Regions from separate parts of the Homo sapiens genome. Here regions 1, 2, 3, 4, 6 and 7 are each linked to region 5. The links are contacts of gene promoters, found by promoter capture Hi-C in blood cells and fetal thymus (Javierre and others, 2016). All regions are on one chromosome and are shown on one strand. Each heading gives the region's core, a stretch centred on a gene start or on the middle of the fragment in contact. The rest is flanking DNA. Distances are from core to core; before and after follow the strand shown. Region 1 has its middle 23 kb from the start of LINC02725. Region 2 has its middle 100 kb from the start of LINC02725. Region 3 has its middle 39 kb from the start of LINC02725. Region 4 has its middle 80 kb from the start of LINC02725. Region 5 holds the start of KCNJ5 (potassium inwardly rectifying channel subfamily J member 5). Region 6 has its middle 120 kb from the start of LINC02725. Region 7 has its middle 59 kb from the start of LINC02725.

Region 1 (3,544 bases), core at 917-3,416, 820 kb before region 5:
GAGACAAACACTAAGAAAGAAAATACCACTCAAGTATTGAGCTTTGCCCACAAATCTGATCAAAAGGCAATTTGGAAAGTAGAGCAGAACAGGGATTGAATAGATATGATTGATGAAAGTAACATGGGTCACCGTGGGTCTTTCTAAACTGCGGTAGATTTGCATGCCATTGTACTAAGGCAGGCCTCCTGTGTTTAAAGCTTGTCACTTCCAAGTTGGACTCCCCTTTCTGTAAGGGCAGCACTTGGGTTCCCATTACCTTTGTGTCACATCAGTCCTCAAACAAACGAATGATATTTTGGCAACAATATTTCCATTTACTCTTTGCGATGTCATCTGGAGTAAAATATTATTTAGTTTTCCCACTTTTAGTGGCATTAAGATTAATAAGTAGTGACATTTTGCTGCTATGGACTGAAGATATACACATAAATATCTCAACAGAATAACAACTGTGGGCTGTTGAGGACTGTGCTTTTCATAAACTCATGGGGGAGTTAACAGAACCTTGTTGATTTAATCCTAGGCCTATGAAAAGTATTAAGATGGATGCTCCCAGAAGGCAAAGGGATAGAAACTTGTACTGTGAGATGAAGGGAGAACTTGTCAAAGGTGATATCTTTCTCATTAGAAAGGGACAGTCTTTGGAATGTAATGTGGAAAAGACATGTACTTCCTTTGCACACTGTGCCAGGCAGTACCTGGACCTCAGATTGTCTATGGTTCTCTGGAGCTTGTGGAGGATGGGCACTAGGTATCACATTCTTGAGAGCTGTAGGAAGGATCCACGTAGTAAATTCGTATTAGAGCCAGCACCTCTGTGTGCTTAATAATTACAATCATGGGCCTCCTTGCTCATTCTCACCTGGACTGCATAATCTCAGAGTCTTTGTTCTAATGTGGGAGGAAGAAGGAGCTACCAAAACATTTGTATTGCACATCTTAAGAACTTTGGTGAATGAGAACTTGGAAGTAGATTTTACTTGATTTAGTGGAGATGTGATCATTATAGCAAACATTTTATAATGTGCCAGTAATTGTTCTAAGCACTTATATTTACAAACTAAATTCTCACATTTCACACAGAGGAAAATGTACTTGCCAGTTGTGCTAGTTAACCTCTCAGTGCCTCCGAGTCAGGATTTGGAACCCAAGCAGTGCAACTGTAAAATGTCTCTCATTCAGGTAAGGCATGATTTACATTAATTGCAAGCTTAAGGAAAAGGAAGGGAGATGAATGTTGGATGAGCTATTCCCCCAAATACACACACTCACACACACCCGTTTTGTTCAGGGGACTCGCTATGCTTCTGTTGATTTACCTTTAGGTAATATTAGGAATAATGCTCAGTTTGATAAATATGTACTGCATTGGGCTGAGGTGCATTGAAAGTCTTTATTGCACCACTTGCAGTTAGAAGAGAGTGACTTGGAGATACAGAAGAATGAATTTATCTTTCTACTTTATTCTTTCTTTTCCCCACATCTATGTTCTTATCCCTCATCTGGACACTCTCCTAGTCTAGACTGTTGGGAATGACAGCTAAGTGTGACAGAATATTTTATTTTACACTTGTTTACCCTAGTAGGTTCTGATAGTCATGTATTTCTTGGAAATGGAATTTGTCATAGAGGGAGTAAGATTTAGTCAGGTCCTTAGTCCTGTTTCTTCTTTTAGGCAATACATGTATATTTCCTCTTCTTACTTTTTCTCACCTGTTTTTCTCCCAACATTTCCTGAGTAGAAGCCAGTCCAGCCCCCAAACAACAGCTCAACTATTCCAGACATACCCCTGCCCTCTTGCAAACAGCTCACACTCAAGCAAACAGCACAGCCTGGGAGGTTTGCAGGTTTGTGGATTGCCACTGGACCCTGTCCAAACCCCATTAGCCTGTGCCCAAGAAGGTCTAATGGGATCTACTGTTACGTTGCATAGGATTTATTATACCTGAGCTTTTGAAGAGCAAGAAAGACATTCCTCTTTTCCTCTCTTTCGCCCTGTGATTTCCACTCCATTACTGAGGTCAGTTCATGTGGCCTGCCCAAAAGAAAAATTGGTAAAAACGGACAGTGTTTTCTCCACAGCACCTTCAGTTGCCCTTTTATCTTCTCATCCTCCATCTTGCAACCCATACTCCTCTTCTCCTTCCATCTCATTCACGTCCATCTTGTTTTTTCTTTCTTTTTTTTTCTCTTCTTCCTGTCCCAGTACCTTCCTTTTAGACTGACAATACTGTATAGCTAAATAAATATCCTGTCAATCCTTCAGACTCTCCTTCGTTTTGGTTTTCTTTTAAATAAAAATTGAATTCTGTAAGAACTGATTTGGTACCTGAGTTTTTGCACTTGTTATAATAAGAACAGATCTGAAAAGATCTGAGAGGAATGAAGACATCAGTTAAGAGGCTTCTGTCATAATCCAAGGAAGAGCAGATAGTGGCTTGAGTAAACGGGCAATGGAAAACACAGACACATTTAAATATGATAGTGAAGCAAGACACTCATAGAAGGAAACTCTTGCTTAGGAAAACAAAAGTGGCAATTTAGGATTGTCCATTTCTAAAATGATAGGGATTTAATTACAGCTAGTGTCATTTCTACTCGTAGCAAAAAGCAATGGTACTGACACTTTTCATGCAGCTGCCTCTGGAAGGTCAGAAAAAAAGACAAATGCACCACATATGAAAAACGAGGCAGCCTTTTGGTCCCAGTAGCAACATAAATTTATAATCTTAAAAGCATGCTCAAGGGGGAAATATACTTTGGTATTATAGGACTAGAATTTGAAACTAATTACTGAAAGATGTGTTTCAGGTAATAGAAAACAATCTTAAGGTTTTGAGATATAAATAATCAACTGGATTACAATATAGTAACAATAATATCTAATTTGAGTTATAAAACATAATAGCTCTAAAAGATTAGAAAAAGAATAATTGCTAAGTTATAATAATAAGAATAGTTAATATGTTAACTTATAGTTCAGAGACATTAATTGACCTTATACTTTTAGTAAAATATGCATATATTTAGAAACTACTCAAAGAATGGAACTAGTGCATGGCTTATGAAACAATAGAGGAACAAACTCTACCGTTGCCTCTGAAATAAAATAAATAAAGCTTTACCTTCTTTATATCCTTATTTCACAAGTGATTAATAAAGGAAACCAGCCAGGCTGAGCTCTCATTGGTGGTGAGGCTGAACTTGAATTATAACTCACAGAGGACATTAAGTCAAAGAAAGGCTTCCGAATCGCAAATCTCAAACCAAAGGAAACAAGCCACCATACTTGATAGCAGAAATAATAAACAGCATAATTTTACCCCCAAGAGTCTTGTTTATTAGAATATACATATATAAAATGTAAATAATAAATAGTTTAAATAATTAGACTGGGCATTGAAAACATGAATAAGGAATGATAGCTTTGAAAATAACTAAAAAGATTATAGAAAAGATAAATTTTATTATTAAAATTTTATAAATCAATAGATTATTTAAATAGTAGATTCTATGGTAATTCTGAAACAGTTGGTGAAG
Region 2 (3,073 bases), core at 181-2,680, 900 kb before region 5:
CATTTCTGTAGGCAAAAGTTAAAAAGTCAGCACACTTCTCTCTCACATCTGGACACACAGTCCATTTCATTTTATGGGAAAATGAGGTATTATTTAGAAAAAAATAAGTTTTTCTGTGACTTATCTATAACTTTTGAAGTGACCATTAATGTTAAATAAGGTAACTGTTTTCTTTAATCATAAATCACTTGAAGAAATTTTAACCAATTAGATTTTCTCTCGAAAAAAAATTGGAGAAGGTAGAGGAGAGGTAGATAGATACGGTGATATTCTGACTAACATGGCTTAAGTTCCATTTAGGTAGACTTTCTCACACTTCTCTGAAATAAAGTAACCTTAGGGAAAGAAGAACAATGTAAGACTCAGAGTGTTGAGGCTATGAACGAACACATAATGCTTCAGGCATTTGAAATATCTGAGTATGTTGGGTTTGAAATTCCAAGTCCTAACTCAAAGGTTTTGTACTAGAGATTTTTACCCTAAAACTACTACTCGTACACCAGGAATGACAAAATACAGCCAGGCTTTTTTTCCCCTCCATTTTATTGTAATATAATACATATTCAGAAAATATTCCTGCCACAAATATACAGCCAATGGAATGTTTACAAACGGAACCCATGTGCATTCAGTACCCAGCTCAAGAAACAAACCATTGCCCATACCTGGAAGCCCCTTCATTATCCTGTTTATTTTCTTCCTCTCTCCACTCACACTATGCTGAGATCAGCCTCTTAAACAAGATCAGCTGGGCCTCCACACCTTTATGTACCTTGAGATAAACAACAGAAATGGCAGCAGAGGAAGCAAGGAAAAGACATCATACATTCCCTCTTGAGCCTGGCTGTGTGGACAGACTCTCCAGTGGACAATGTAACGTGTGAGAGCAGCTCTCTGGGGCTTCTGACCCAATGGGCTGAGCAGGTGTGTTCCTCGTGGAATTTTGAGGTGAAATCAGCCTATAGAGCTCTGCACTTTGGAGGTAACTTGCTATTTTCCACCTTTCAACTGGGATTAGACAAACGTTTAAAATGGTAACCATAAACACACAAGGTCATTCTCAGCTGTTGAATCCGTAATTGGGGTTGGGGGGTGGGGTTGTTTTTCCTGAAATCTTTCCTTAGGACTTTCCCACTCATCTTCTCTGTTCTCTGAGCTCCTCTGTCTTAATATATGATATTTCTCTAACACTATGGATAATTTTCTCTTTGGGTATTATTTCAGCTGCAGACTTTAAAATGCCTAGCATTTGGCCGGGTGCGGTGGTTCATGCCTGTAGTCCCAGCACTTTGGGAGGCCAAGGCAGGTGGATCACCAGGTCAGGAGATCGAGACCACCCTGGCCAACATGGTGAAATCCCGTCTCTATAAAAATGTGAAAATTAGCTGGGTGTGGTGGCGCGTGCCTGTAATCCCAGCTACTCAGGAGACTGAGGCACAAGAATCACTTGAACCCAGGAGGTGGAGGTTGCAGTGAGCCGAGATCGCACCACTGCACTCCAACCTGGTGACAGAGAGAGACTCCATCTCAAAGAAAAAAAAAAAACGTCTAGCATTGGTAGATAATGCCATTCTCTGTGCATGTCTCAGGCAGTTTGCAAAGGTGAACTATGCTCCATGCTGTCCACAAGACAGAGAGGGAGTTAGTTACATTGGCTATGTCTTTTGACTAATAGAAATAAGTTTCACTTTATGATTTTCACACACAGCAATCCATATGCATGAATAATATGTTCAAAACATTTCTCAGTCAGAGGTGGAATTAATAAAAAGTGCTGTGGTTAGAAAAAGGTTAGTGATTTTGATCAGTGAAGAAGTTCCCCCAAATTCTTTCTCCCCTACACTAGGACAATCCATCAGAAACACGGCAACACTGCAGTACGAGTAAGGTATGCCTATTCTGACCCAACAAAAACATGAAGGAATAACCTATTTTGTACCTTTCACAAACTAGAGCAAAAAGTTATTCTTCAGTAAATACTGGCTTTGAAGTTGGCACAAATTTAAGACTAATTCAAGAACTAATACAGCCACGTACTAGACAAACTTGTCAAGTCATCCAGGACCTAAGAGTCTCATTTTTATCCTCATAGATGTGTGTGTGGCCTTCTCTACAAGCATGAGGACCAATAGAGATCTGATAGTCCCTTGTCATGGTGAAGTGTTGTACAAAAATAAATTACCATGGCTCTCTCCACATTGCCTGGGGCCCAAGAGAAGGACACACTTTTGGTTCATTGTTTTGCCTTAAGAGATCTGTTGGATTACTACACAGGGAGATGGAGGAATGTCTTGCTAGAATTATAAGCGACTTTTAAATTAAAAGATCATCACCAACCTATCAACTGTATGACCGGCACTCTGCCCTGTTTTTTCAGGACAATGTTGATCTGCCGATCCTTATGACAGCTGGCAATTTGATGGCTGGAGGCTGGTGTGAGGATGTTTTCTGTGGTAGTGGAAAAAAAAAAAACACAACTAACTGGCCCACAAAGAGAGAAAATCCTAAAGTGTGATTTCACAATTTAAAAACTAACTGAATTACGCAGACATTCTGGAATGCATGCCTCATTTCTATGGGACGTGCAAGGATCTCGCTTGCTCTGAATGTCTAATTTTGTAACTACATTAGTAGAATATATATTGCAATGATTTTTTTTATAGTGAAGGAAAACAAACATGGTTATCTACAAGCAAACACAGAACTCTGTCTCTGTAAAACCTGAATCTATCATCTTGAAATCTGTCACTCCTTAATCTTCATTTGATGTGAGCTACATGTAGATTGTTTAGCATCGTCGTTACTTGCACCTGGTTTGTAATCAGACATCCTGACTCTTCCATTTTCTCACCTTGGGATCTTAGGACTGTGAAATCACTCCCTATGTATACCAGTTTCTTCCTCCATATAATGTGTGCAATTATTCCTGCCTCATTGTGCTCTTGTGAGGATTAGATGAAATAATATATCTTAAGCACTTAGAACAGTGTTTAGCACATCCTAGGCACGCATTGAACTGAAGCTTTTATTATTATTCATATTGTGTTCACTTATGGAGACATACAGGAGTCAA
Region 3 (3,330 bases), core at 487-2,986, 830 kb before region 5:
ACTCACCCTACAGTCTAGAAAGAGTTTACAATGCTAATTCCTGCTTCAGGGAAGCTATAGGAAGATGACTTAGCACCAGAAGTTGAAGATTCTTCCAGAGGAAAAGCCCTGTCTCAGTTTTACATAAGACTTTTTACTGTGTTATCCTTCACTCTCCTGGGTGACTTTGTCACCTCTCCAGGATCTAAAAGGCCTTTGAGTAATATCATAAAGAGACCCAATGTTTTCCCTCCAGGCCACTCTAGGGCTGCTTTTCTTGGTCTCAACAATTTCACAAAGCACTTTCTTTTCTTAATATAATAATATGCTAGAAATGAAAATATTTCAGCAAACTGTACGATCACAGCATAGTTGATGAGGAACTGTCCTGCACTTGTCAAAGTGCATAGCAATTCTTAAAAATGTAACTTGGAATTGCAGGTTTTTAAAAAAATTCTAATTTCCCTTTATTTCTTGAAGAAATTGTCCATGTTTGTGTTTGTAACACAGATGTTCCCTTTCTTCCAGGGGCAAAGTTTTATATCTCAAGGTTATTTATAAAAGTTCACTATAGTTAGGGGTGGAATATAGGTGGGGTAGTTATCTACATTGTGTCAGTCTATTTTTTTAAGCTCAGTGTTACTAAAATATAATTCACATACCATACAATTCACCCATTTAAAATGTACAAGTCAATGATTTAAGTATATTCGAAAAGTTACCCACCACCACAGTGAATTTTGGATCATTTCATGACACCAAAAAGAAACCCCACACCCAATGTCAGTCCCTCCCCATTTCCCCCAGTCCCTTCCACTCCAGCCCTGGCAACGACGAATCTACTTTCTGTCCCTGTTGATTTGCCTATTCTGGACATTTTATTTAAATGGAATCATACAGTATGACGTCCTTCTTTCACTGAGCAAAGTGTTTTTCATGTTCATACATGCTGTACATCCACACCATAGCATGCATCAGTGCTCCATTTATTTTTATTGATGAATCAGGTTCTATTATATGAATAACCCACATTTTATTTATCCATTTATCACCTGAAGGAGATTTGAGCTGTTTCCACTTTTTGTGTATAATGAATAATGTTGCTATAATCTTTTGGGTGGAGACATATTTTCATTTCACCTGGGTATAAATCTAGAAATGTGACTTCTGAGTCATGTGGTCACTCTGCATTTAACCTTTTGAAGAACTTTCTGGCTGTCTTTCAAAGGGGCTTCCCCATTCAGCATCCCCAACAGCAGGGTATGAGGGTTCTCCATTCTCCATATCTTCACCAGCACATGTTATTTGCTGTCTTTGTGATTGTAGCCATCCTACAATCTGGGTGTGAAGCCTCTATTTATTTACTGTTCTCTTTTGATTACTTCTTCTTTGACCATCATTTCTTCATGATTGAAATTAATAATTAATTCATGATTACCCCTTCTTTAAAATCAAAATAATGTCCAGTCCTGAATATGTCTCTGGTGGGAATAGCTCAACTGCAGAGAATGTGATAAGAGAGAAAAATGTCCACCACCGCCAAGGGCTGAAAATTTTACTAGGAGAAGACACAAACAAATCCCTCTTTCTAGACTTTTTTTCTCCATCTTTATCAGCCATTTTTTTTTTTTTGCAGTGGAATTTAGGAAAAACATTAATGAGAGAAAATAAAACCATGGGAAGTAAACAGAACAAAGGTATATATTCACTATTTCACTGAACAAAAGATACCAGCAAAAAAGACAAACCACTCTTCACACCCAAAAGCCAAAATGGGGACTGACACTAGGGCAGGAATACTAGAGAGAAAACTCATCTTTCAATGACAACATGACTGTTCCAAAATTATAAGACTTACCTTTCTTACCGGAGCATAAAAAGGACTCCTTGACAATGACCCTGAGACATTTTTTCCTGTTTTCTCACAAGGCCCTGCATGTTCATAATAGATAATAATGTTGCTGTTGGTTATTTAAGCTAACATGAATAAGCACTGACTATATTCAGACATTGAAATAAGTACATTATCTATACTTTTGCAGCAACTCAATAAGGGCATATGTGTATGTGAATGTGTGTGTGTGATTCCCATTTTACTTATGAGAAAACTGAGGCACAGATAGATTAAGAAACTTGACGATAGCCCCCAGTGAGTAATAGCAAGGACAGGGTTCAAGTCCCAACCTGTCTTATCTGGAATCTTATAGCATACCCACTAGATTTCACAGACTCTTGAAAAAAAAAGATATTTAGTGAATAAATGGATGAATATTTACAAATATCAAATTTGAGACATCTAGGAAAGGGAAAATAATGTTTTTGGAAGAAAGTATAAGTGAATAAAAGGACTTGTAGATGACAGAGTAAACTAACCTGCCACTTTTTCATTGATAGTTTAAAATCTACACATATCTATACATATCTACATCAAATAATTTAAGGTACATTTCTACAGGCTTTGACTACAAGTGAGTACAATGAGTACAAAATTAATAGTAATAATTCCACAAGTGCCATTTCCCCTGCTTCCACAAAAACCTCTTTAACGCTTCAAAGTCTAATCCTATAGTCTAATCCAGTTGTTCCTTGGAGTGACTTGGAGATGTATCACCTGAGCTTGCAAACAATTCCTAGGGCTCCAGTGGCCACATGGCATCAGCAAGGTTCTTCCTCTCCTGTTCCAGTCTCCTCGTCAGTACCTGCTTCCTGATAAGCCAGTTCAGAGTACCACCCTCTTGCCCTCTGGCAGTGCCCACCATGGAGTATCCATGTTCTCATCACAAAGTCTGCATGCCTGCTCCATACAGAGTGGAGCTCTCAATACACCAAGGCTATGCCGGGTTTAGCGTAGATGTAGACAAAAGGCTCCTCTCCCTCACTTTGTCACCAGAGAACCAATGTAGAACTGGTTGTGTTTCAGAGTCTCCCAGGAAATAATGGAATTGTTCAAACAGTTTATCTTACAGCTGCACTTTGCTTTCTATAGGGCTCAAATAGAAGCAGCTAATGCCGGCCCAGAGAACTTAAAAGATCTCAGATGTCCTCCTGGTGCTTCTCACCAATCCTCCTTTACTGAGGCTTCTTTCCCACATGCAATTGAATTCCTTCACTAGATGCCAGGGAGCTGCTTGCTCTACTTGCTAACCGGTCAAACCCAGACATGTCTGAGTCCCAGGGGTGAGTGCAGCTTAGGCTGAAGCTGGGACCATGTCTGCATGACTTTTTAAACCCTTAATTATTTTGGAAATTTGATCAGATATTTTTGTCAGGTTTGGTACTGAGAGGGAGGAAACGTCATATTCTGCCAAATATAATTTGAGAATTGCAACTTACATGTTTTTCTCCATCGCC
Region 4 (3,028 bases), core at 147-2,646, 880 kb before region 5:
GTTCTAAGAAGGATATTTTTGACTTGTGCTTTTGAACTTTGATGGGGATGGAGATATCAGGAAGCAGTATTCTCCCAGCCCTCAAGATACTTTCCAGAATCTGGGCATCATGAGAATTTGCTCTAATTTCATACAGATTATTAAACCAGGAGAGGTATAACTCACCGTCCTAAATATTCAGCTCCAAAGGGCTTCAACATGTTTTACTCTATGTCCCAGTAATCAGGGCCCTGACACACACAAAAAAAACGTAAAATATTTTTTGATTGGTGTGAAAATAAAATTAAAGATCAAAAAGAGCTCTCCACGGAAACTGATCAGTTTTATTCCCAATAATTTATACATCAGCAAATTTTACTGAGTACCTACATATACCTTTCACGTATAATTCTCCATGTCCTTATTATAAGCACCAGGACTACCTGTTCCCACCAGCATGCCCAGCCTCATTCCATGCTCTGTTACTAGCACTACATAAGAGGGAACTTCTCTGAAAAATCTGCTTTTGCCTTGAAGTTCGCCATCTATAAGGTTTCAGCCACAGAGGTGAAGATGGACGGGTAAAACCTAATAAGATAAGGCAAATAGGGAAAAGATGGGATCAGAATTAGCTGTGTGTTTTAGGACTGGGGTAGGCACTGGAAAGGAGATAGGTCTGGTTGCCAGTAATAAAAGGACCAAGGAGACAAGCAAAATAAGGAATTGGGAGGTTGCAGAAGGCATGAGGAAGATCCAACAGCAAAGACGTCTCTGACAGTAGGGGAATCTATTTTAGTTTCCAGTTCCAAGTTCTTAGATTTGGTTCCAAAGAATGACTCTACTTTTAGTTCAGGGGTTATCCCAAGCTAAGCAATGCTCTATGGGGTGGAGGGTCAACATAGTTACTGGTAGTAAGGCATTTGACTTGCTAAGCTGCTTCTAATGTGGAGCGGGTAAAAGATCTGTCTAGAATCATTTTATAGGACTCCTATTGGGAGTTCTATATAATAATGACAGAATGCACTGCCCTCACCTAGGAATAATGTCTTCTGGCCAGTCAGGGCCCCATGAACAACACAGAGGTAGGTCCCTGGACATTTTTGCTTTTGCTGACATTCCGTCCTTCCAGTGGCCCCATGTGTGTGGATGCTGAGCATCCTGAAACTGACAATAACAATCCCTGAGCAACATAAATGGAGTAAGAACAAGCAAAGGGGAAACATAAGTAGGCACAGGTGGAGCAGAAAGAGAAGGACACAGAGATCACTGGCGGCTAGGGCCTAGGAAGGAGAAACAAGCCAAGACCCTGGGCCATCTCTTCTGTCTAAAGTCCAAAAAGCAACCACCATGTGATATGGCCACTCTTTACCTGGCAGAACTCTACTGCTTGCCGGTCTAAGCCATGACCTTGCTTTCACTTCCCTTCCATAGCTAAAGCACCTGAGGAAGTGTGCTCTTCAGATGTACTTCCTTTCCCATCACTTATGTTTAATTCGAAGGAGATTTTCCTAGCCCTGAAGTCCCAAATACTCTGTTATGGAATCTAACAGCCCAGCAACACTTGAAATTGTCTCTGCTTTCTCTGTATGGTCTCACAAGTTATTGAGAAGGGTTGACCTTGTTCTAATCATATGTGGGGACACACCACACTCCTTGGTATGCTTTGCTAAAGCTGAGTTCTTGCATATTATCTATGGATTGCATAACTAGAGTTCAACCTACTCCTCCACTATAAGCTGGTTTGCACATTTCCATCTCACTCCCTTAGCCCAGTAGACATGGATGGATTTAGACTTGGGGCCTTTCTAGGCTGCCTCATCCAAGAGAGCTAATGCCTCATGTCACAAGGTATGGTGGCTGAAGCAAAGTTTACACCTGTCTGCCAATTTATTAGCACCTTACATGGACTGATTCAAGAGTCCAGATTTACAAGTAAACTTACACATTATTGATGGCAACTCTCTTTTTCCCCTTACACACACATACACACACACACAGACACACACACTATTACCTTCTACTATTTTCTATCATAAGGAGACTGAGAAAATCAAGCTATCTTTTCATGGTCAACATACTCAATATCTTTCCACTAGCAGAATTCCTTATAAATGAAAAATATAGGAGACAAAGAAGCAAAAACATTTTGTATTGAGCACATTGTCTAACTTTCCTCACCCAATTCCCTGAGTTCTTGTAAACCTGGGCTTAATTATTATTCTCATTTTTGTCATGATAAAGTCACTTACTTTATGGAGCTCACAGTCTATTTAGAAAATAGACTTCAATAAAATAATTAACTAAAACAAAATAATATTACAATAAAGAAATGTGTTCTTCCTTAAAGGAGAAGGAATGAATTTAGTGTATAATAAAGAGACCTGCCTTAGTTTGGAGAAATGGGAAAGGCTTCTCTAAGGAAGAGTTTGAGCTGAGAACTGAAGGTCGAACAGGAGTTACCTAGAAGAAATACGGAGTATTCGAGACAGAGGAGGGGACATGGCCTGGTTCAGGGCAGAGCATGGCACATTTCACCTGTTAAAATAAGGCCAGTTTTCTAAAGTACAGTGAATGCTGTCAGATGAGGCTCATTAAATATTAGTTGTTTCTTCTTCTACTTTATTATTTTAATTAATTAATACAAAATTATTGAACAATTTTAATCAAGGAGAGAACAATCATATTGGTATCTGATATGAGACATGGAGATAAGAGGGATGAGGTTGACTAGGTTTTTGACATTAACACCTGAATGAATGACAGTACCATTAGCTGATAGGGAAGACACTGAAGGAATACCAATATCTGGAGTGAGATCATCAGTGTTGTATCAAAATTACCATGGACAGCTTTTAAGTCTTCCGAGTGCATACATCTAATAGGCAATTAGTTGGTAAAGCCTAGAACTTGGAGGAGAAGTCAAAGCTGGAGATATAAATTTGTGAGTTATCAGTATGTAGGTGTAAGGGAAGTTGTAGGCATAAAGGTGAATGTGCTATGAAATTCAACACTGAGTAACTCCAAAAATATTAAACAATGCAATTTCATG
Region 5 (3,256 bases), core at 529-3,028:
TGAGAAAATCTTTGCAAAACAGTATTTCCCAGAGCACCCTATATTTTGCTTTAAAGTCAGTCCAGGTCCCCTGACCCCCACCCCGTAATGGCAAAAGGAATATCATGGTCTTTATACCTAATCCAAAAGCAACTGCTGCCCCAGGACAGAGCCCCTCCTCAGGGCTCAGCAGATGATTATAGTGTGTGTTATCTGGACCTGAGAACTGCACAGCCAAAGCCTCTCCCAAGAACTAGGCAATTAGGGAATTAAGAACTTTCTCCACAATAGTGTTAAGCCCTGAGGTCAAACAACATATGGTGCAGTGCGTGAGCACCTAGGCAAGCTGAGTCCCCTAAGGGGACACAGAGCTTTCCTGTTAGGGCCTGTTGCAGCCACATTTAACAATCACCCCCTCTACAGAGAGAAGAGGGGCAATCAGGAGGCCCACTCTGGCCGGACCGCTCTGTGCTCTGTCCCAGGGGAGGGTGCCTGGGCAACGGGCTGTGTGTACGCTGGTCTCCGAGGCAAGAGGACCCCCAGGCCACTGTTAGAGACTAAGTTTCCCTGTCACTGTCCTTACAGGAGAGGATGGACTTGGTGCCCTCCAGTATTAGTGACAAGCATTTTTCTCATTGCAACGTAATAAACCAGTTTTCTGGTCGTAGACATCATTCACCTAGCACTTGTGCTAGGTGCTAGGGCACCCCACGTTTGACCAGCTGTGTCTGCCCTGAGAGAGGGGGCTGGCAGGGGGGGTGTTGACCCCAAAAGGCTGGGTAACGGAGAGGGGCCAGAAGGAACACCACCGGGTGAGAAGGGCCACCCCGAACAGACCGGTCCTCAGAGGCACCTGCCGGCCCTCCCCAGACAGCAGCCCTCCCTTTCAGCCTGCCCTGGCAGCTGCCTTTCCTACGGCTTCCACGAATTAAAGAACACACTCTGGTCATCATCTGTCCTCAAGGCAGGTAGGAATCCAAAAGGGAGAGCCGGGAGGTGGCGCGGAGGACGCCGGCTCTGCCCACGCCTGGGCAAGGTTGAGCTCCGTTCCCTCCGGGCTGCTCCCGCCTCCTGTCCGTGCAGGGCGCGTTTCCAGCCATCGCCGCCCAGCCGCCGCCGCACGCCGGGGAGAGATCGTCCGGGGTGAGCAGCGAGCCCGGGGACAGCTAGCCTGGGTCCTGTCCCTGGACCTACTCCCCCTGCAGCTGGCGGATCAGGCCCCCGGACCCTCACTCCACGGCGGGAATCAGAGCCGTCGGGCGGGGGATGCAGCGCCCAGACTGTGGCTCCCCCGCCTTCCCAAAGGAATCCCCCCATCTGCTCCATCCCTCTCGGGAAACGGCGAAATGCTGCCAACCGTCCGCTTAGCGCACCGCGGAGCGACTGAGCAGCCCCGCCGAGGCTCCGAGCCAAGATTTCTGCCCTAATAGTTTCTCCCTTCTTTCTGTCTGCTCCACCGCACCCACTAAATACGCGGCGCTCACACACGGACACGCGTGACACGCGGCGCTCACACACAGGCATGGGACGCTCACACGCGCGCGCGCGGGTCTCCGTCCCTGGCACCCCGCAGCAGGGGTGCAGCCGGGGGCAGGGGGAGCCGGGGGAGGGCGCAGGGGGCCGCGGGGACGCGAGCGGAGGGCTGGATGCCTGCCGGGCTCTCTCTCCGCCTTCCTCTTCCCTCCCAGTCCTGCCGAGCTGACGGCGTCCCGGATCACATGGAGCCCCCGCCCCACCCCAGCCCGCCCCCCGCCGCCAACGCCGGTGGCCCTTCCAGTCGCGTTACTACCCAGAGATTCATTTGTACCAGGGACGGAGGGAGAGAGGAGAGGGAGGAGGGGACACACACACACACACACACACACACACACACACACACACACACAGAGAGAGAGAGAGAGAGAGAGAGAGAGAGAGAGATTGTTCCAGCTGCTCTCGCTAGAGAAAGGGAGTGACCCAAGGGGCCGCGAGTGAAGGGACAGGATGGCTTAGGTACCTCTGCCCACAGGACCCCACAACAGGGAGAGGTTCCAGCTACAGCTCCTCCGTGGGGTCATGGCAGGGGCTGGGGAGTCCCCTCAAAAGCCCTGAGCCCCCCTGCACCGCCGCTAAGGGACACCCCAGAAGTTAGCATCAGTGGGACTCGGAAGCTCCGATCTCAACAAGTAAGTTGTCTTCTTTTCCTCCTCCATTTCTCCCCCAGCTCGCGGGTTCTGGAGGGCAGGATGACACCCTCAGGTGTCCATCACCTGGGCAGCAGGCTTTCACAGGGAACCTGCTAGACTGGGAGCCAGGGGGGATAAGGAAAAGCTTAGGGCAGGTCCAAGTTTAGGAAATTGGAGATCTCCGTGGCTGCAGGCTGCCCTGTGCGTTGGGAGCCCAGCCATAAACACCTTCACTTCTGGCACTAGACCAGGGCTACCTGGGGGTGCCCCAGATCTCCCAGCAGTGGTTTGAGAGGCAACAGTGGCCAGGAGTGGGTGGGGTGTGGAGGACATTTTTCACCTGGTAGGACTCTTCCTTCAAATGGGAGCAGGGAGGGCCAGGATGGGGGGCGGTGCCCCCCTCAGCCTTAGATCCCCAGCCTAATCTTGCTTTCTCTTTTAAGTGTGGCCAAACTGGAAACACGGCCTTGTGATTTCTGCCCCCCTCGCTGCCCAAGTCACTTCCTGCGTACCTCCCTATCTCCTTTTAAAGAGCTTTCAAATGGTTCAGAAAGGCCAGGGGTCAAGCCTGTGAGGACAGAGGATAGGGAACAGAGAAGGCCGGCCTTGTCATTGCTCCCCTTCTCTTCAAGTCAGTGCTTCTCCCTGCAGAGCTGTTGGCCCCCTGGTTTTATCTGTGCCTTCCCTCAAACAGGGCTCTCCAACCCCAGGGGCTGTGGAGGGCCTCAGGTCCGGCCCCCAAAGTTCTAGGGCCTACCCTGAACATCAGGGTGAGCAACACCAGCCCAAAACCTGTTCCAGGAGCCTTTTCAAACACCAGAAGAAGATCAACAGGAACACGCCAAGTATTTTACTCTGTTTCAATCCTTTTAATAAGCTGAGATTATCATCCTCATTCTACAGGTGAAAAATTGAAGCCCAGAGAGGCTGTGCAATTTGCCTCAGGTGCACAGCTCATAAAGGGAGATTCTCTCCTATATCTGACTCCAAAATGTGCCTCGTTTTCATCAAAAGCCATATGGTTTATCGGGCTTTCTGGTTCTCAAAGCACTTTTCCATGTGAGGAAAAGGCTAATATTTATGAAACCAAGGTGCCGAGCTATATACGTTTA
Region 6 (3,404 bases), core at 458-2,957, 920 kb before region 5:
AAAAAAAAAAGAAACAATGTTAATCAAAGGAAAGATGTATTATCTATAGTAATATTAGATAAATTAGACTCTAGAGCATAGAAACTTACCAGAGAGGGAGAAGGAGAAAGAGAGAGAGATTCTGTAATAATAAAAATGTCAATTCATCAAGAAGACATGACATTTCTAAATGTGCAAAAAGCAGATGCAAAACATATGAAGCAAAAATAGATGACCTAAAAGGAGAAGTTAACCTCACAATTGTATTTGTAGAGTTAAATATGACCCTTTCACCAATTAGTAAACCAACTAGACAGAAAATCAAAAAGCATATAAATCAATTCAACACCATCAACCAACAGGATCTAATTGACAGCTATAGACTACTACACCCTTCAACAGTAGAATACATATTCACTTCAAGTAACCAAAGGAAGTATACCACAATGGACAATATTTCAGGCCATAAACCAAACCCAATATATTCAAAATAATTGAAAAACTACAGAGCATATTATCCAATCACAATGGAATGAACTCAGCAATCAACAACAGAAAGAATAGGAAACTCTCAGCACTTGGAAACTAAACACTTTTAAATATTCCATGAGTGAAAAAAAAAAAGTTCTCAAGAGAAATAAAAAGTAAGGCGGGGCATGGTGGCTCACGCCTGTAATCCCAGTACTTTGGGAGGTCAAGGTGGGAGGATCACTACAGGTCGGGAATTTGAGACCAGCCTGGACAACATGGTGAAACCTGTCTCTACTAAAAATACAAAAATTAGTCAGGTGTGGTGGTGCATGCCTGTAATCCCAGCTACTCTGGAGGCTGAGGCAGGAGAATCGCTTGAACCTGGGAGGCGAAGGTTACAGTGAGCCGGGATTGCACCACTACACTCCAGCCTGGGTGACATCACGAGACTCTCTCTCTCAAAAAAATAAATAAATATATATATATATACATATTTAATGAATGATATATATATAATATATATATTTAATGAGTGAAATATATATAAATGAAATATATATGTATTTAATGAATGAAAATATAGCATATTAAAATTTGTGGAACACAGGTACAACAGTGTGGAGTAAGAAATTTATAGGACTGAATCCTGTAGTGGAAAAAATGAAAAGTATCAAATCAATAATCTAAGATCCCACCTGAAGAAAATAAAAAAGAAAGGGATAAATTAAGCCCAAAGTAAGCAGAATAAAGGAAATAATAAAGATGAAAGGAGAAATGTAGTGTTATTCATTGTGTTCGCTCACTATCCTGGAGCTTCTGTACTGATATCTCTTTTGTATTCGTATTATAAGTAATTTGTGTCTTCTTTTTTTTTTGCCACTCTTGCTAAAGTTTTGTCAATATTATTGATCTTTTTAATTAACTAAATCTCTTTTCATTGATTTCTCTATTGTTTTTCTCTTTTGACAAGAAAACACTGAAAAACAGACTTTTTGATTATCAAAATAATAACAATGTTGCTCTAGGTCTCATACATTATACACAAATTAATTCAGAATTGTTATTGAGCTACAGGTAAAATATTATACATTTGGGTGAGGTGCACTTTTTCACTGGGTTGCTTGTTTTCTTGTGGTTAAAATGTTAAGGGATTTTTGCATATGATACAAGTACTTTATAGATATTTGCTTGCAAATATATTCTCCAGTCTATGAAAGTGTCTTTCACAGAGCAGAGTTTCTAATTTATTTTTTTATTTTTTTATTTATTATTATTATTATACTTTAAGTTTTAGGGTACATGTGCACAATGTGCAGGTTAGTTACATTTGTATACATGTGCCATGCTGGTGTGCTGCACCCATTAACTCGTCATTTAGCATTAGGTATATCTCCTAATGCTATCCCTCCCGCCTCCCCCGACCCCACAACAGTCCCCAGAGTGTGTCCTTCCTGTGTCCATGTGTTCTCACTGTTCAATTCCCATCTATGAGTGAGAACATGCAGTGTTTGGTTTTTTGTCCTTGAGATAGTTTACTGAGAATGATGATTTCCAATTTCATCCATGTCCCTACAAAGGACATGAACTCATCATTTTTTATGGCTGTATAGTATTCCATGGTGTATATGTGCCACATTTTCTTAATCTAGTCTATCATTGTTGGACATTTGGGTTGGTTCCAAGTCTTTGCTATTGTGAATAGTGCCACAATAAACATACGTGTGCATGTGTCTTTATAGCAGCATGATTTATAGTCCTTTGGGTATATACCCAGTAATGGGATGGCTGGGTCAAATGGTATTTCTAGTTCTAGATCCCTGAGGAATCGCCACACTGACTTCCACAATGGTTGAACTAGTTTACAGTCCCACCAACAGTGTAAAAGTGTTCCTATTTCTCCACATCCTCTCCAGCACCTGTTGTTTCCTGACGTTTTAATGATCGCCATTCTAACTGGTGTGAGATGGTATCTCATTGTGGTTTTGATTTGCATTTCTCTGACGGCCAGTGATGATGAGCATTTTTTCATGTGTCTTTTGGCTGCATAAATGTCTTCTTTTGAGAAGTGTCTGTTCATATCCTTTGCCCACTTTTTGATGGGGTTGTTTGTTTTTTTCTTGTAAATTTGTTTGAGTTCATTGTAGATTCTGGATATTAGCCCTTTGTCAGATGAGTAGGTTGCAAAAATTTTCTCCCATTTTGTAGGTTGCCTGTTCACTCTGATGGTAGTTTGTTTTGCTGTGCAGAAGCTCTTTAGTTTAATTAGATCCCATTTGTCAATTTTGTCTTTTGTTGCCATTGCTTTTGGTGTTTTAGACATGAAGTCCTTGCCCATGCCTATGTCCTGAATGGTAATGCCTAGGTTTTCTACTAGGGTTTTTATGGTTTTACATCTAACATTTAAGTCTTTAATCCATCTTGAATTAATTTTTGTATAAGGTTTAAGGAAGGGATCCAGTTATCAGTTTTTTTTTCTTTCATGGATTATGCTTTTGGTATTACTTCAAAAACTTACCAATAACTTAAGGACACCTAGACTTTCTCCTGTGTTATCTGCCGAAAGTTGTAGAGTTTTGCATTTTACATTTCTATTTATAATCCATTATGACTTAATCACTGCAAAAAGTATAATAAGGTCTGTGTTTAGATTTAATTTTTGTTTGCATATGAACATCCAATTGTTCCAGTAACATTTGTTGAAAGGATATCTTTTAACAATTGAATTGCATTTGTTCATTTATCATACCACATAACTTTGTCTGTTTGGGCCTATTTCTGGGCTCTCTATTCTGTTCCATTGATCTATTTTTCTATTCTTTCACCAAAACCATGCTGTCTTGCTTGGTGTCACTTTATAGTAAGGCTTGAACATGGATGTGTCAGTTCTCCAAATTTTCTCTTTGTCTTTTTCATTATTATGTTGGCTATCCTGGGTCTTTGACTTTCCATGCAAT
Region 7 (3,279 bases), core at 586-3,085, 850 kb before region 5:
CTGCTACCCTTTATTTATCTATTTATTAGCTGTATGGACTTAGACATTCCTAGGTTTTCAAAGGTTTATCGTTAACTACTGAATTTAATAATTATGATGCTCAAAATGTCTCAGATTTGGCCAATGGGATTCCTTCTGGGCTGGCTCTTGTGTCTCTGCGACATGCCCCCATTATGTTTTTAAGCACTTCCTTAACTTCCGGCACAACACGATATTCCTGGCACATCTTGTTCCTACTTTCTCTGCCATCACCCCGAGGATTCTTGTTTCCTTTTCATACAGAGACAGATTTGAACACTAAGCACCCTCATTGCTCCTAGGCTGTCTCTCCTTCTCGGCCCTCTCAATGGACAGTGTTGGGAATAATTGCATATGCACCTGCACATGCAGGGACAGTGCTACAGAAGTGTCTACACACATACACGCCATGTGCATTCCTACACACACACTTCTGTATGCACACGGGAGCAGGCACACATACATACACAGGGTTTAGACAGCATGGTTGACCACTTGTGATGGTGAATATTGAATGTCAACTTGATTGGATTGAAGGGTGCAAAGTACTGTTTCTAGGTGTGTCTGTGAGGGTGCTGCCACAGGAGATGAGCATTTGAGTCAGTGCACTGGGAGAGGCAGACCCACTGTCAATCTTGGTGGGCACCATCTAATCAGCTGCCAGCACAGCTAGTATAAAGCAGGCAGAAGAATGTGAAAAAATTAGACTGGCTTAGCCTCCCAGCCTACATCTTTCTCCCGTGCTGGATGCTTCCTGCCCTCAAACATCGAACTCCAAGTTCAGCTTTGAGACTCTGACTGGTGTCCTTGCTCCACAGCTTGCAGACAGCCTACTGTGGGACCTCACCTTGTGATCGTGTGAGTTAATACTCCTTAATGAACTCCCCTTTATGTATACATCTATCCTGTAAATTCTGTCCCTCTAGAGAACCCTGACTAATATACCACTCATACCTCTAATTTCCATTCATCTCTATATGATCTTTTTCTTCTCCTTGGGATAGAAGTGCACTACACTTTAATTTAAACCTTAAAACAAAGATTGCCCCCCCACCCGCCTGCCACCACCACACAATAAAACCAGAGGATGTGTGGCCGATTTGGCAACAAATAATAGATTTACGGTAGCAGAAACATAAAGTCACAGAGCAGGTTAAAACTGGAGAAAAGCAAATAAAAACAGCATTATAAATATCTTTCCAATGACTTATGCACTCATTTCAAAAAACATTTTTTCGGAATCAACTGTGTCAAGCACTATTTTAGGTATTGAGATATATCGGTGAACAGTTTAAAAGTCTGTCACTTTAAGGAACAGATATTCAAGAGATGTGAGACACACAGCATAACATTAGTACAAAAGATATAATAGGTGCTCATTTTGAAAATGCTACATGAAAGATCAAAGCAAAAAAAGGGGCATAGAGGTACCTCAATGGGCGTATTTCCTTATATAGAGGGTTTGGGGTGCAGACCTTTGTGATAAACTGATATGTGACCGGAGACCTAGAGGATGTGAAAGAGCAGCCGTGAAGATCTCTGCCTGAGGCTTCCAGGCAAAGGGTGGGTCAAGTGCGTCCTAGAAGGCTGTGATGGGGGACAGTGAGGGGCTGCTGTGGCTGGAGCCCAGTGACTGGGCAGTGTTAGGAGGAGTTGCAGGAGGCAGTGCAGGGTCGGATCCTACAGTGCTTTTCACACCTGTAAGAATTTGGCATCAGTGCAAGATGGGAAGCCACGGGAAGATTTTGAGCAGAGACATGCCATTGTCTGACCTGAGTTTCACCATAGTCACTCCAGCCATTCTGCAGAGGATACACTCACATGGACAAAGGGAAACAGGTCAGTCCAAACAGGGGGCAAGTAGTAGAAACCAGAGATGAACTTGAGACTCTCGCAGTCATTCAGAGATGACGTGGTCTGTACTGAGGTTATGGCAAATGTGTGCACTGTCTGTGTAGAGACAGATGTCCAGTCAGCAAGCATTATTGCATGTCACTATGTGCCAGGGAATGTGATGACTTCTGGGGAATACAAAGATGAGTGAGACACAATCACAGCCCTCACAGAGCTCACAGTCTTTGGAGAATGTGGTGGGCAAGGCAGACATGCAGGAGTAGGATGAGAGTGTAACCTGATAGGCCCTGAGGCAAGTCAGGAGCAGGCTGAGCCACAGGCTCACGTGTCCAGTGCTCCATATCCGTGGATCCCTGGACTCAGAGACAGCTTCAGACAGGACATGATTTCTCTTGAAATAGAAAGGAATCAGGAGCAAAGAAAGAGATTCTGGGGCTCTTGAGTGATAGAGAGAACATCCTTGGCTCTTGAATTTCCAGTTCCAGTCACAGCCCTCATTATGGCTTGCTGAGTCTGTCATTCCCTTGGGTGCCCATGGAATTGTCTGCCATGGTTTTACAACAAGCTCCCCTTACCTCATCTGCCTTGAGAAAGTTTCTGTACCTTGTAGCCAATGACTCTGGTCTGTGACATAGAGAAGATACGAATGCAGAATCAACAGCCTGATGCTGGCCAGGGCATATGCAGGGTTAGCATGGGGTGAAGGCAGGGCTGGTGTCCAGATTTCTGGCCCAGGTGTGACAGCAACATCATTTGTCAGAAGAAATAGGAAGAAGCTACCGAGTGTGTTCTCAGGTGTAATAAGTTTGAGAAGCCTCCAGGGTGCAGATGGCACACCTCGAGCTAAGGGGCCCTGGGTGTGGGAATGAGTTCTGGAAGGCTCCAGTAAGCATTGCCAGTGAAGCTGGGGGACCTGCAGGTAGAGGAAAAGTCAAGCGTGGAACTCCAAAGAATGTCTCGGTTGCACGCAAAAGAAGAGAAGTCAGGAACAAAGAACAGCCAGGAATGAACTAAGACAAACGAGAGAAGGAATCCAATAGACACCATGAGAGGAAAGCATTTCCAGGAGGAAAAAAATTCCAATTCCCCTTCCTTCTTTCCTTCCTTCCTTCCTTCCTTCCTTCCTTCCTTCCTTCCTTCCTTCCTTCCTTCCTTCCTTCCTTCTTTTCTTCCTTCCTTCCTTCCTTCTTTTCTTCCTTTTTGGGACGGAGTCTCGCTCTGTCGCCCATGCTGGGGTACGGTGGCACAATCTCGGCTCACTGCAGCCTCCATCTCGGGTTAAAGCAATTCTTTTGCCTCAGCCCCCCGAGTAGCTGGAATCACAGGTGCAGGCCACCACACCCAGCTAATTTTTTTGTATTTTTAGCAGAGAGGGGGTTTTACTATGTTGGCCAGCCTGGGAGCTCC

What was found. Contacts are between HindIII fragments. The CHiCAGO score rates a contact against its expected background, and 5 or more counts as called.
Region 1: a contact is called between a fragment that was not itself captured here and the fragment with the promoter of KCNJ5 in region 5, in 5 of 17 cell types (naive B cells, naive CD4 T cells, activated CD4 T cells and 2 more). The highest score is 5.7, in naive B cells.
Region 2: a fragment that was not itself captured here is called in contact with the fragment with the promoter of KCNJ5 in region 5 in 5 of 17 cell types (naive CD8 T cells, activated CD4 T cells, total CD8 T cells and 2 more); the score reaches 8.4 in naive CD8 T cells.
Region 3: a contact is called between a fragment that was not itself captured here and the fragment with the promoter of KCNJ5 in region 5, in 1 of 17 cell types (total B cells). The highest score is 6.7, in total B cells.
Region 4: a fragment that was not itself captured here is called in contact with the fragment with the promoter of KCNJ5 in region 5 in 6 of 17 cell types (non-activated CD4 T cells, activated CD4 T cells, total CD4 T cells and 3 more); the score reaches 9.4 in non-activated CD4 T cells.
Region 6: a contact is called between a fragment that was not itself captured here and the fragment with the promoter of KCNJ5 in region 5, in 3 of 17 cell types (total CD8 T cells, total CD4 T cells and activated CD4 T cells). The highest score is 6.3, in total CD8 T cells.
Region 7: a fragment that was not itself captured here is called in contact with the fragment with the promoter of KCNJ5 in region 5 in 7 of 17 cell types (naive B cells, naive CD8 T cells, total B cells and 4 more); the score reaches 7.9 in naive B cells.

What each region holds. Positions count from the first base shown.
Region 1 is chr11:128,071,164-128,074,707 of GRCh38, forward strand. No RefSeq gene overlaps it. Among named protein-coding and RNA genes, the nearest start is that of LINC02725, 23 kb to the right of the region's middle. The HindIII fragment of the contact is 1,910 bases long and covers 1,212-3,121 here.
Region 2 is chr11:127,994,501-127,997,573 of GRCh38, forward strand. No RefSeq gene overlaps it. Among named protein-coding and RNA genes, the nearest start is that of LINC02725, 100 kb to the right of the region's middle. The HindIII fragment of the contact is 3,180 bases long and covers 1-3,020 here.
Region 3 is chr11:128,054,814-128,058,143 of GRCh38, forward strand. No RefSeq gene overlaps it. Among named protein-coding and RNA genes, the nearest start is that of LINC02725, 39 kb to the right of the region's middle. The HindIII fragment of the contact is 6,879 bases long and covers 1-3,330 here.
Region 4 is chr11:128,014,621-128,017,648 of GRCh38, forward strand. No RefSeq gene overlaps it. Among named protein-coding and RNA genes, the nearest start is that of LINC02725, 80 kb to the right of the region's middle. The HindIII fragment of the contact is 5,844 bases long and covers 1-3,028 here.
Region 5 is chr11:128,889,578-128,892,833 of GRCh38, forward strand. KCNJ5 (potassium inwardly rectifying channel subfamily J member 5) reads left to right here and starts at 1,779. Exons shown (of 3, transcript NM_000890.5): 1 at 1,779-2,144. The HindIII fragment of the contact is 6,484 bases long and covers 1-2,287 here.
Region 6 is chr11:127,974,123-127,977,526 of GRCh38, forward strand. No RefSeq gene overlaps it. Among named protein-coding and RNA genes, the nearest start is that of LINC02725, 120 kb to the right of the region's middle. The HindIII fragment of the contact is 4,588 bases long and covers 1-3,404 here.
Region 7 is chr11:128,034,713-128,037,991 of GRCh38, forward strand. No RefSeq gene overlaps it. Among named protein-coding and RNA genes, the nearest start is that of LINC02725, 59 kb to the right of the region's middle. The HindIII fragment of the contact is 6,153 bases long and covers 1-3,279 here.